Linked DNA regions of Homo sapiens: all the other regions are linked to region 2. The links are contacts of gene promoters, found by promoter capture Hi-C in blood cells and fetal thymus (Javierre and others, 2016). All regions are on one chromosome and are shown on one strand. The core of a region is centred on a gene start or on the middle of the fragment in contact, and the rest is flanking DNA. Distances in the headings are between cores, read along the strand shown.

Region 1 (4,372 bases), core at 1,782-4,281, 2.3 Mb before region 2:
GCCTTGGCCACCTGGGCTCAAGCGATCCTCCTATCTCAGCCTCTCAAATAGCTGGGACCACAGGCATAGGCCACCATGCACGGATAATTTTTGTATTTTTTTTGTAGTGACGGAGTTTTGTCATGTTGCCCAGGCTGGTCTCAAACTCCTGGGCTCAAGCCATCTGCTCACCTCATCCTCCCAAAGTGCTGGGATTACAGGTGTGAGCCACTACGCCTGGTCTGAGACACATCATTAAGAAAATAAAGGGAAATCAGACTGGAAGAAAATATTTGCAAAATTCACATTTGATAATGCACATATAGAGAACTCTTACAACTCAATAATGAAACAAAACCAACATGTAAAAAACCTTAATTTAAAAAAGGGCAAAATACTATCCCTGATGAACATCAATGCAAAAATCCTCAATAAAATACTGGCAAATCGAAGCCAGCAGCACGTCAAAAAGTTTATTCACTACAATCAAGTTGGCTTCATCCCTGAGTTGCAAGATTGGTTCAACATACACAAATCAGTAATGTAATTCATCACATAAACAGAACTAAAGACAAAAACCACATGATTATCTCAATAGATACAGAAAAGGCCTTTGATAAAATTCAACATTCCTTTATGTTAAAAACTCTCAATATACTAGGTAATGAAAGAACATACCTCAAAATAATAAGAGCCATATATGACAAACCCACAGCCAATATCATACTGAATGGGCAAAAGCTGGAAGCAATCCCCTTGAAAACTGGCACAAGACAAGGATGCCCTCTCTCCCCACTCCTATTCAACATGGTATTGGAAGTTCTGGCCAGGGATCATGCAAGAGGAAGAAATAAAGGGTATTCAAATAGGAGGCGAGGAAGTTAAATTGTCTTTGCAGATGACACAATCCTGTATCTAGAAAACCCCACTGTCTCAGCCCAAAAGCTTCTTAAGCTGATAGGCAACTACAGCAAAGTCTCAGGATACAAAATTAATGTGCAAATATCACAGGGATTCCTACACACCAACAACAGACAAGCAGAGAGCTAAATCATGAATGAACTCCCATTCATAAATGCTATGAAGAGAATAAAATACCTAGGAACGCAGCTAACAAAGGAAGTGAAGCACCTCTTCAAGGAGAACTACAAACCACTGTTAAAGGAAATAGAGAGAACACAATAAATGGATGCTCATGGATAAGAAGAATCAATATCATGAAAATGGCTATACTGCCCAAAGTAATTTATAGATTCAATGCTATTCCCATTTAACTACCATTGACATTCTTCATAGAATTAGAAAAAACTTTTAAAATTCATATGGAACCAAAAAAGAGCCCGTATAGCCAAGACAATCCTCAGCAAAAAGAACAAAGCTGGAGACATCATGCTACCTCACTTCAGACTATACTACAAGGTTACAGTAACCAAAACAGCATGGTACTGGTACAAAAACAGACACGGACCAACAGAACAGAAGAGAGCATTCAGAAATAAGACTGGATACTTACAACCATCTGATCTTTGACATACATGACAAAAACAAGCAAAGGGGAAAGAATTCCTTATTTAATAAAATGCTGGGAGAACTGGCTAGCCATATGCAGAAAATCGACACTGGACTCCTTCCTTACAACTTATACAAAAATTAACTCAAGGTGGATTAAAGACTTAAATGTAGAACCCAAAACTATGAAAACCCTTGAAGAAAATCTAGGCAATACCATTCAGGACATAGGCACGGGCAAATATTTCATGCCAAAAATGCCAAAAGCAATTGCAACAAAAGCAAAAATTGGCAAATGGGATCTAATTAAACTTAAGAGCTTCTGCACAGCAAAATAAACTATCAGAGTGAACAGACAACCTACAGAATGGGAGAAAATGTTTGCAACCTATACATCTGATAAAGGTCTAACATCCAGAGTCTACAAGGAATTTAAACAAATTTACAAGAAAAAACAATCCCATTAAAAAGTGGGCAAAGGACACGAATGGACATTTCTCAAAAGAAGACATTCATGCGGCAACAAGCATATGAAAAAAGGCTCAACATCACTGATCATTAGAGAAATGCAAATCAAAACCACAATGAAATACCATCTTAGGCCAGTCAGAATGGTGATTATTAAAAAGTCAAGAAACAACAGATGCTGGAGAGGTTGCAGAGAAATAGGAACACTTTTACACTGTTGCTGGGACTGTAAATTAGTTAAACCATTGTGGAAGACAGCGTGGTGATTCCTCTAAGATCTAGAACCAGAAATACCATTTGACCCAGCAATCCCATTACTGGGTATATGCCCAAAGGAATGTAAATCATTCTATTATAAAGATACAGGCATGTGTATCTTCATTGCAGCACTATTCACAATAGGAAAGACATGGGAATCAACCCAAATGCCCATCAATGAAAGACTGGATAAAGAAAATGTGATACATGCACACCATGGAATACTATGCAGCCAGCCATAAAAAGCAACAGGATCATGTCCTTTGCAGGCACATAGATGGAGCTGGAAGCCATTATCCTCAGCAAACTAACACAGAAACAGAAAACCAAACACCGTATGTTCTCATATATAAGTAGGAGCTGAACAGTGAGAACACATGGACATGGTGGGTGAGGGGGAGAGTATCAGGAAAAATAGCTAATGCGTGCTGGGCATAATACCTAGGTGATGGGTTAATCTGTGCAGAAAACCACCATGACACATGTCTACCTATGTCACCAATCTGCACACCCTGCACATGTACCCTGGAAGTTGAAGGTGAAAAAAACGGTGCAAAAGATTGAATAGGCATTTCATAAAAAATATACTAAGCAAAAGGCACAGGAAAAGGACCTCAGAATCATTAGTCATCAGGGAAATAGAAATTAAAGCCACAATGAGACACTGCTACATTCTCACTAAAATGACAGATTAAAAAGCCCAAAAATACCAAATGTTTAGGAGATGTACAGAAACTGGAACTCTTGTACATTGGTGGTGGAAATTTTAAATGGTCCATTTTGGAAAACAGTTTGGCAGTTTCTCATAAAGACGTAAATGGGAGCTTTCTTTACAATAACACAAAACTGGAAAAAACACAAATGTCTTAAAAGACACAAATTTTTTATCCCCCCCTTTTGGGGATAAAACCAAAAAGGAATGATCTAGAAATACACACAAAGACATAGATGACTTTTAAAAACATGCTGAAGGCAGATACACAAAAAAATACGTTCTATGATTCTATTTATATCGAATTTTAGAACAGGCAAAACTTATCTAAAGACGTAGTTCTCAACTGGGGCAATTATGCCCTCCCCTTCCCTGGGCAATGCTGGAGACATTTTTGGTGGTCATAACTGGGGTGGCATAGGTATGGGGGTGGTTGCTAAAGGCATCTGGTGGGTAGAGGTCAGGGATGCTGTTAAACATTTTATAATACACAGGCCAGCAGCCACGGCAAAGCATTACCAGGCCCAAAATGTTGAAAGTACCCAGGCCCAGGTTGAGAAATTCTGTTCTAAGTGATCAGTGGTGGTCTAGATGGAAGTAAGGATATTGAATGAAGGAATTCTGGGGATAATAAAAATGTTCTGTATTTTATTTTATTTACTTTTATTTATTTATTTATTTTTGAGATGGAGTCTTGCTCTGTCGCCCAGGCTGGACTGCAGTGGTGGGATCTCGGCTCACTGTAACCTCTGCCTCCTGGGTTCAAGCAATTCTCCTGCCTCAGTCTCCCGTGTAGCTGGGATTACAGGTGCCCACCACCACGCCTAGCTAATTTTTGTATTTTTAGTAGAGAAGGGGTTTCACCATGTTGGCCAGGCTGGTCTCGAAATCCTGACCTCGTGATCTGGCTGCCTCATCCTCCCAAAGTGTTGGGATTACGGGCGTGAGCCACTGCACCCTGCCGATGTTCTGTATTTTAATTGTGGTAGTGACTGATTTGTCAAAACTCACCAAACTGCACACACTTAAAACGTGTAAATTTTACTGTATGCAAATTTTACATCCAAGTTGATGCTAAAAAGTATAGTGCCTGTATAAGACTATGTTAAACAGTTTAATCCATTTTTTGTTTTTTAAAACACATGCACAGAAAAGACAGGTAAGGCAACTACCATTAAAGACAGGAAAAGCAAATACCATTGGTGGGATTATGGATAATTTTGAATTTTTTGTCCTGTTGTTCATTTGCTTAGTATTAAGTAAAAATTTAATAAACTTGATGTGTACACACACACATAGAGACAAACACAAACACTTATATATCCAGTACCTAAAACAGGTACAAATAAATGAGGATAATAGAAAAGCACAGGTGCACATGAATATTTAATTGTGATATTTGATCATAAGACTCTAGTTATTTCAAGAAAGTATAAAAATGTATAA
Region 2 (4,458 bases), core at 415-2,914:
TTTATAAATCGACCCTGAAAATACCGTATTTAGGCTCAAAATAAATCAAAGCTGTCAATATATAGTAAAGCAAAATCTTAAACCTATATTTCAACCAATTTCTCTCTACAAGAAGTGAGTGAAATCTTTCCTAACTCCTACACCAAGAGACCTAATAAATCCCTTAAGGTGTTATTCTTTATGGGCTACAAGATCAAATATGTTGGGAAGTATTTACATAGACATGTTGTCTACAGAGATTGAGATATATTAATATACAGTTCTAAAAGAAAAACCAAATACCATTCAGCGTCCGACACTGGAAGCCCTGAATTCTAAGTGGAAAAGTTATCCCTTTCACCAAAAATGTAGAAAACAAGGCAGAAAATACTTCCCGGTCATTTCCTTAATTTTTTAAAAATTGCATTACACACCTATAAATGTATTAGTATCAATCAAATCAAGTTTAAGAGGGACTTTGTGCTGCTTCCTGTTCTTGGGAATTAAGTCGGACCAGAAAGTGCTATGCATAAGTAAGATCCTTCAGAAAGAAACAAGGTCAGAATCCTAAGACATCACAAAAGGTAGACAAAGCTTTTTCCATCCCACACAAGCGCCAGAGACAGCAGCCTGTTACCAACTTAGGCATGGTCACATTTGCAATGCACCACTTCCTTCGCACGCCCCAGGAGCTCTATAAAATGAAAGTAACTTAAAAGGTGGGGGGGGCGTATAATCGTCTGATGCAACAGCAGTATGGCCCACACAGACTTCGGGCTCTGGGCAGTGACTGGGTTCTCTGTTTAGATTTAGAAAAAGCATGGGGCCGGGGCGCTGGCCTGAAAACTTACGATGGAGCTGTATGTATCGGGGTGGGGAGTGCGAATGAATGAATGAAAAAAAGGAGCGGACTAACTCCTATTCTCCTATCCCCACCTCCCACAATATCGATTATTTAAATGTTACAAGATTTTCTAGGCTCCTGAACACAGGGGCCCTTGTGGGGCCGTCTCTGGAAGCGCTGGGAGTCCAGGCGGTCCCCGGGGCTCTCTCCTGCCCCTTCTGCCGCGACAATGACTTTCTCCTAGAGACAGCCGCCTACACTTGCACTTGTTCCTCGTGGCCCCGGGGAAGGGCAAGTGGCGAGGAGGAAAGAGAGGAGGAAAGGAGCTTTTTGCCCCTGGTGAAACGCAGCTGCATCCCAATCGCAAATCCGGCTTGGTCCCTCGCCGTACCCGCCGTACCCGCCGGTCCTGGGGAAAAACCCCGAAGAACTTTCTGGAGGCGCCCCTAAGGCTCGCGCCAGGGCACAGACCTGGCCCGACCTTGACCCCCGTGCAGTCTGTGCTTGAGCCCCGGCGAGCTGAGCCCGCCCCAGCCGAGACCTCGACCCCGGCCCCGACCCCGCCCGGCCTGGGTCTTCGCTGGCCCCAGCGGGTCGGTACCTGCTGGAGCCCGCGCGGGGCTCGGTTGAGCGTTCTTGCGCGCCTTCTTCCCAGGCATCTCCGCCGGTGCCGCCGCCCACTCAGCTACAGAGCCCGGGAACCTCAGCCTCCAACTGGAGCACCTCGGACAGCTGCAGGACGCGAGCTGAACACGAACAGTCCTGCAGGCAGGGATGCTGGGATCGGGTGTCCGGACGCGCGGAGATGCCAACTACACACGGTGAGTGCCCGGGAAACTCTGAGATCCCCGCGCCAGAGACCACGCTTTTGTCCAGTGAGAACTTCCCTGGTGACGTAGGGAAACTAGACGCCCGGCCCGCCCCTGTCCCCGCCCCTGTCCCCGCCCCGCAGACGGCGTTATGGGAGCGGACGCGGGACGCGGGCGGGGAAGTACCCCGCTGAGCGCGACCTGCCCGGACACGCTCCCGACCCGCGGCGGCGCCGACCCGCGGCGGGGGGCGCAGAGCGCTCGGCCCCGAAATTACTTCCTTACAAAACGAGGTGGGAGGAGAAGGGGGTCGGCTTTGACCATCTGCAAACGCTGGACGTCGTCAGCGGCAGTGGTGGCGGGAGCTGGGAGTGGCGGGAGCTGGGAGTGGCGGGAGGGGAAGGGTTTAACCAGGAGGAACGTTGTGGGTGGGGAGAGACCAGAGGCCTTGGCAATTAGAGACTTGGGTAAACAAGCCCAGAAAAGAGATTGGAAAAGGAAACTTTTCGAACTTGAAGAGTATGGGCAGTAACAGGGAAGGGAAATGAGAAGAACCTTAATCACCGCAGAGGAGATGCCAGAGGCCCTGTGAGAAAGCTCCGGGTCCCAGGAAGTCACTGCAAACAGAAGCCCTGGTGCCAGCCAGAAAGAACATCGTGTTTGAGTTGGGAAGGGATTTGTGTGTGTCCTTCCAGATAGGTCGATATCGCCCATTGTGGATGTTTAGCAAAAACGAGTGGATCGTTATCATATGGAAAACGTTCAAATCTTTTGTGGGAGGGCTGAGCTACCTGGGAACGTGAAATTATTTGCATAATGTTTGGCGAGGCCATGAGTAATTCTACTATTATGAAGAGGAGTAATTAGGAGTGGTTAACGGTTACTGAGAGCCGCTTCATGCTAAGGACTTTGACATGCATTTTCTCATTCCGTCCTCAGAACAACCGTTGCTACTTTACGGGTGCAGAAACTGAGGTTTGTAGAAAATTGCCCAAGTTCACTTAGGCAGAGAGCACTGCCCTGATTCCGAACCAGGCAGGCCCACAGAGAGCAAGAGCTCTTACCCACTGTAGCCTTCCCAGCAATCAGTTTCTTAGAAAATGTGTGTTTTCGCCGAACGCGGTGGCTCACGCCTGTAATCCCAGCTCTTTGGGAGGCCGAGGCGGGTGGTTCGTTTGAGGCCAGGAGTTCGAGACCAGCCTTGCCAATATGGTGAAACCCCGTCTCTACTGAAATACAAAAGATTAGCCGGCCTTGGTGGTGCACGCCTGTCGTCCCAGTTGCTTGGGCGGCTGAGGCACGAGAATCGCTTGAACCTGGGAGGCGGAGGTTGCAGTGAGCCGAGATCGCGCCACTGCATTCCAGCCTGGGTGACGGAATAAGACTCTGTCTCAAAAAAGAAAAAGAAAAAAAAAGCGTGTTTTCATATTAGCTGTGCTGTTTAATGAAAAGATTGCAAATTCGTTGCATGGGCTCCCTAGAAGTGCTTAGTTTGGTTTACAGTATTGGCCTTCAAAATGTATTGTAAAAATTTGAATTGATTACCAACATTTTAAACATTGAGGGATTGCATGAAAAACCCAGATTCCAGCATCTCTTGGAAAACCAGAATCTCTGACAACGTGGGATCCATTTTCCAAAAGTGCAAACTAGGTTTGAAGTGTGGTCGAAGCCACACCCTTTAGAGGAACCTAGGGTGCTCCTGTTCACCACACTCCCCGCTGTTTGCTTTTCCCATTTACATTATCTGGCCTCAGTAGGCATTTGAGGTTGTTTATTTATCTTAAATCATTCAGTCAACACAAACCAGCAAGTATTTATTTATGGCTTGGTCCTGCTGAAGGTATGGACAACAATATAAGCATGGAACAAAACTGCTCTTGAGTTTAAACAACATAGTTTCGAGGCTGATGTTGGCTGTTTTTGAATGGGGTATATACAAACGAGTAAAAGTGGACAGAATTTAGGAATCATCACAAGACGCAGGAAGCACACTGGAGATGCTGCCTTGAAATCTATTATCCCCAAGTGGTAATTCAAAACCACTCCAGGCTCATTTTGACTTACCTAATACATAAGGAACACCGTTAACTTTTTGGTTGCATAAATTATTAAATTTCTGTCGTTCAAATACGCACCCTGAAATGCAGAGAATATACTCAACAACCACCAAAAAAAAAAAAAAAAAGTGAATCACAACATTGTTTACCTATAAAAGGTATGTTAATCCCATCCTCTAACATTTTCATTAGAAAAGAATTGGTCATGTGACTCACACTGGCTACAAACCTTAGGCAACTCTGTTTTTTAGGGAATTGCAAATTCAGCTTGCAAGGAGGAAAAGAGCGGAAAGAAGTCGGGCGAGGTGGGTTTTGGACATGGGTCAGATTCAGCTGGTTTATAGAGGACTTTTAAAGATTTAGGATTTGAGATGGTCCATAAACTCTTTGGCAGATCTAACATTCTCTAAAGAGAATTGGCCAGGCATAGTGGCTCACGCCTGTAATCTCAGCACTGTGGGAGGTGGAGGCTGGGGGATCGCTTGAGTCCAGGAGTTGATGACCAACCTGGGTAACATGGTGAAACCCTGTCTCTGCAGATAATACAAGTATAAGCTGTAGTGTCAGCTACTCAGGAGGCTGAGGTGGGAGGATTGCTTGAGCCAAGGAGGAGGAGGTTGCAGTGAGCTATGATCGAGCCACTCCACTCTAGCTTGAGCGACAAAGGGAGAACCCTGTCTCAAAAAAAAAAAAAAAAGCTAGAAGCAGAGTGAATAGCTTCTTTTAACTGTATATCCTCTGGAAAAGGGAGGTATCATTTAATGTT
Region 3 (3,899 bases), core at 692-3,191, 2.3 Mb before region 2:
TAGAATGAAGTATAGTGAACAAGTGAAATGTTCTACAATTTGTAGAGTAAAATATGTAATTACTTTAGATGAAGGGAGAAACTTACATTGTGTAGTTTTCTGCAGTTTGGTAGGGAAACCATTTGGAAGTTGTTGAAGAGGTCCAGGTGAAAAATAATGGACTTAGGTGATGGCAGTGAATGTGGAGAAGTGAAAACACGAGTTCCTTTGAAAACAAAACTCAACTGGACACTGAGTTTTATATATATAATGACATAAACATTATATATATTAGATATATTAAATATATATATTTATTATATATAAAAATATATATTTATAATATATATCTAATATATATAATGTTTATGTCATTCATGTTTAGTAGTGAACACTGTGAGTCTGTAATCAAGAAATTTTATTAATTTGATTAGGGGAGTTGTTTTCAGATCCTCTTAAAAGCTTTTTTGAGGGGGAGGGGATTGAATTGCATGACAGTTTAAAAATGGTCTCATTGTCTCATAGCCATGATTTTTATAGGAACTAAGTAATTGTATAGGACATTCATTTTTCTGTTCAGCTAGTTGCTATGTATGTTTTTAAAAATATTGTGCTTACCTAAACCACTTTTAAAAATAATGCATTAGCATTAATTTAACCGATTTAATTAATTAATAATATTGGGAATTTAATAGGATCAGAGAAAATATGAATAATATAAGCTTCTATTGGATAATGCAATGGTTAAAAGTAAATGTGTCTATGATGGTAGTTAAGTCTTTATAATTGTTTACTCATTCATCTCGCCTAATTAGATTTTTACTGCTGCATATTAAATAACAGTATGAGCTGAGACCTCACTTCATGTCTCTGGCCTTCAGCTTGTTCTTTTGTGAACTCAAAGTTTGACTCAATTGCCTTTGCTTTATAATATGCCATTTCTTCATATAGGCAATAAACATTTACTAAGGAGCTATTAATGGGTCAGTCACAAGTGGAAGAATGTTGTGAATATAGAAGTGAATGGGAGTGTGTCTAAAAGATCATATAATTTGGTATGTAAAACTGAAAAAGTAAGTAATTACAGCAGTGAACTAGGAGCTACCATGGAAGTGTTTCTAAGGCAGACAATGAGAAGATGAGAAATGATCAGTTTTTTTTTTTTTTTGAGTTGGAGTCTCGCTTTGTCGCCCAGGCTGGAGTGCAGTGGCATGATCTTGGTTCACTGTAAACTCCGCCTCCCAGATTCAAGTGATTTTCCTGCCTCAGCCTCCTGAGTAGCTGGGATTACAGGTGCCCGCCACCATGCCCAGCTAATTTTTGTATTTTTAGTAGAGATGGGGTTTCACCACATTGGTCAGGCTGGTCTCGAACTCTTGACTTCGTGATCTGCCCTCCTTGGCCTCCCAAAGTGCTGAGATTACAGGCGTAAGCCACCGCACCCGGCCGAGAAATGATCAGTTTTAATAGTGAAATTATGGAAGGCTTTTTAGCTTTTGCCACCTATTTGTTGCTCTTCCTTGTGTTCCAATTGGAAAGGATGAAGGGAGAGAATTAATTAGGTGGTTGAATTGGCAGAATTTAGTGACCATATGACTATTCTTATTTCATAATGTTTAATTTATCTTTGTGAAGCAAAACTGAAGTGTTATCATTTACTGAGTGCCAAGTGTTGGGCTAGGTACTTGACATACGTTTATTCTAATCCTCACAACCATTTTTATAGTTCATCAGTATTATCTGCATTTTACAGGTAAGAAATACAAAGTTTGGGTAATTTTAGTAATGTACCTAATGCCAGAATCCGCTAAGGACATGATCTCCAAGTGCATCCAAAATAGACACCAAGGCTGGGTGCAATGGCTTACACATGTAATCCCAGCACTTTTTGGGAGGCTGAGGTGAGAGGATTGCTTCAGCCCAGGAGTTCAAGACCAGCCTGGGTGACACAGTGAGACCCAGTCTCTAGAAAAAGTAAAATAAAATTAGCCAGGTGTAGTGGCACACCTTGTGGTCCCGGCTACTAGGGAGGCTGAGGTGGGAGGATTGTCTGAGGCTCGGAAATTGTGCTGTTGCACTCCAGCCTGGGTGGCAGAGTGAGGCTACTGTCTCAAAAATAAATAAACAGAATAGACACCAAGTTGCGTTTTAAAATTTTGTAGACCGTAACCTAATAAATGGCTGAATAGAGTTATTGTCAAAATGCTTGTTATTTACAGAGTTTATTTGCATGATTTGGATCACCAATAAGAAGTCCCAATCTTAATTACCAATTTGGCAGGAAAATATATCTTTGTCTCTTCTATTGCTTTCTTCAGCATAATGTAAAGTCAACTATTTACAGGTTGATTTTAAAAATATGAGTTGGGTTGCTTCACAATCTAGTTATTTTTAGTATTGCTAATATTTTGTGTTCGTATGGTGTCATTGGGGAGTCTACTTATTTCCCATAATACTTCTGTAATGGAGTAGGGCTGACAGTGTCTTTTTTTATGGATAAGGAAACAGTAACAGTGGCTTTACTAGAATCCACTCTTATTATGTAACAGAACTAGATTTTTGTGTTGGCTATTATAACTTTAAGATGGTCAAAGTTCTGAAATAAAATGTTTTGTTACTTCAGTAAACCTTGGAAAATTTATATTATCTTTTAACACATAAACTTTGATACTTAACTTAGCAAAGCAGTGCAGTGGCAAATGGGACAAGAAAGAACATGAGCCCAGGGAGTTATTTGTAAATGCAAATATACATTTGCATTTACATTTACAATTTACAAATATACATTTGCATTTACAAATGCACATTTGCATTTACAAATACATCTTAATGTACTTATAAGTTAAGTACATTATTAGAGTACTAAGTTAAGTACATATGTGTAAGTACATATTAGAGTACTAAGATTTATTTCCATGATAAAGAGGAGGTGTTTAAATCAAAGTGAACATCTGTAAATCTAAATATGCCATATGTACTTTAGCTCTGGATAGAATTTAAGATCTAACTGAAAGGAATTAAGTACTTGAAAAATGACTTATTTTGAATAACTAATGTGATACTTGCCCTTAGACTGGATCCTGGACTGCAGGACAGGAAAAAGGGATAATAGGTAAATATTATGGACAATTTTAGTCAATAAATTTGACAGTTAGGATGAAATGGACAAATGGATAAATTCCTTAAAAACTACGAAAGCTTACTTAAGAAGTAATAGATAACCTGAATATCTATATGTGTTTATCTGTATCTATATATGTGAAGACATTGGATATATGGTTGAAAACCTTGTCACAAAGAAAACCCCAAGCCAGTGGTTTCATTGGTGAATTTTGTTATTCGATAAAGGAAGAAATAATACAAATTTTACACAAACTCTTCCAAAAAGTACAAGAAGGAACAGCATTTCCCAACTCATTGTCTGATACCAAAACCACAGAAAGATATAAGAAAAGAAAATTATAGTCTTATATCTTTCATAAACTTTGCTGCAAAAAATGGTAAAATTTTAACTAAGACCAACAATATGTAGAAAGGATAATACTTAATGACTAAGTGGGGTTTATTCTGGGAATGTAAGATGCGTTTAACATTTGAAATTTAATCAATATTAATTCACCACATTAACAGGCCAAAATATTAATTCACCACATTAACAGGCCAGAAAAATCAGATGATCATAATTATCTCAGTAGATACAACAAAAAGTATTTGACAAAATCCAACATCCATTCATGATTTAAAGCTGTCAGCATATTAGGAGTAAAAGGAAACTTCCTCAGCCTACTAGAGGGAATCTACAAAAACCTGGAAAACTGACAGCATTCATCCTAATATTGGAAACAAGGCAAGGATTTCTGCTGTAATCACTTCTATTCCACATCATACTGGAGGTTCTAGATAATATAAAAAGCATAAGA

What was found. The method cuts DNA at HindIII sites, captures the fragments that hold promoters and counts their contacts. A CHiCAGO score of 5 or more calls a contact.
Region 1: a contact is called between a fragment that was not itself captured here and the fragment with the promoter of PMAIP1 in region 2, in 1 of 17 cell types (naive CD8 T cells). The highest score is 6.6, in naive CD8 T cells.
Region 3: a fragment that was not itself captured here is called in contact with the fragment with the promoter of PMAIP1 in region 2 in 1 of 17 cell types (naive CD8 T cells); the score reaches 8.4 in naive CD8 T cells.

The regions. Positions count from the first base shown.
Region 1 is chr18:62,189,814-62,194,185 of GRCh38, reverse strand. All of the region lies in intron 1 of RELCH (RAB11 binding and LisH domain, coiled-coil and HEAT repeat containing), which reads right to left. Among named protein-coding and RNA genes, the nearest start is that of RELCH, 4.7 kb to the right of the region's middle. The HindIII fragment of the contact is 4,209 bases long and covers 927-4,372 here.
Region 2 is chr18:59,897,202-59,901,659 of GRCh38, reverse strand. PMAIP1 (phorbol-12-myristate-13-acetate-induced protein 1) reads right to left here and starts at 1,664. Exons shown (of 2, transcript NM_021127.3): 1 at 1,425-1,664. The coding sequence starts at 1,482. RefSeq lists silencers at 1,298-1,507, 1,658-2,067 and an enhancer at 1,824-2,575. The HindIII fragment of the contact is 10,069 bases long and covers 576-4,458 here.
Region 3 is chr18:62,171,462-62,175,360 of GRCh38, reverse strand. The region is part of intron 1 of PIGN (phosphatidylinositol glycan anchor biosynthesis class N); the gene reads left to right. Among named protein-coding and RNA genes, the nearest start is that of PIGN, 14 kb to the left of the region's middle. The HindIII fragment of the contact is 2,476 bases long and covers 704-3,179 here.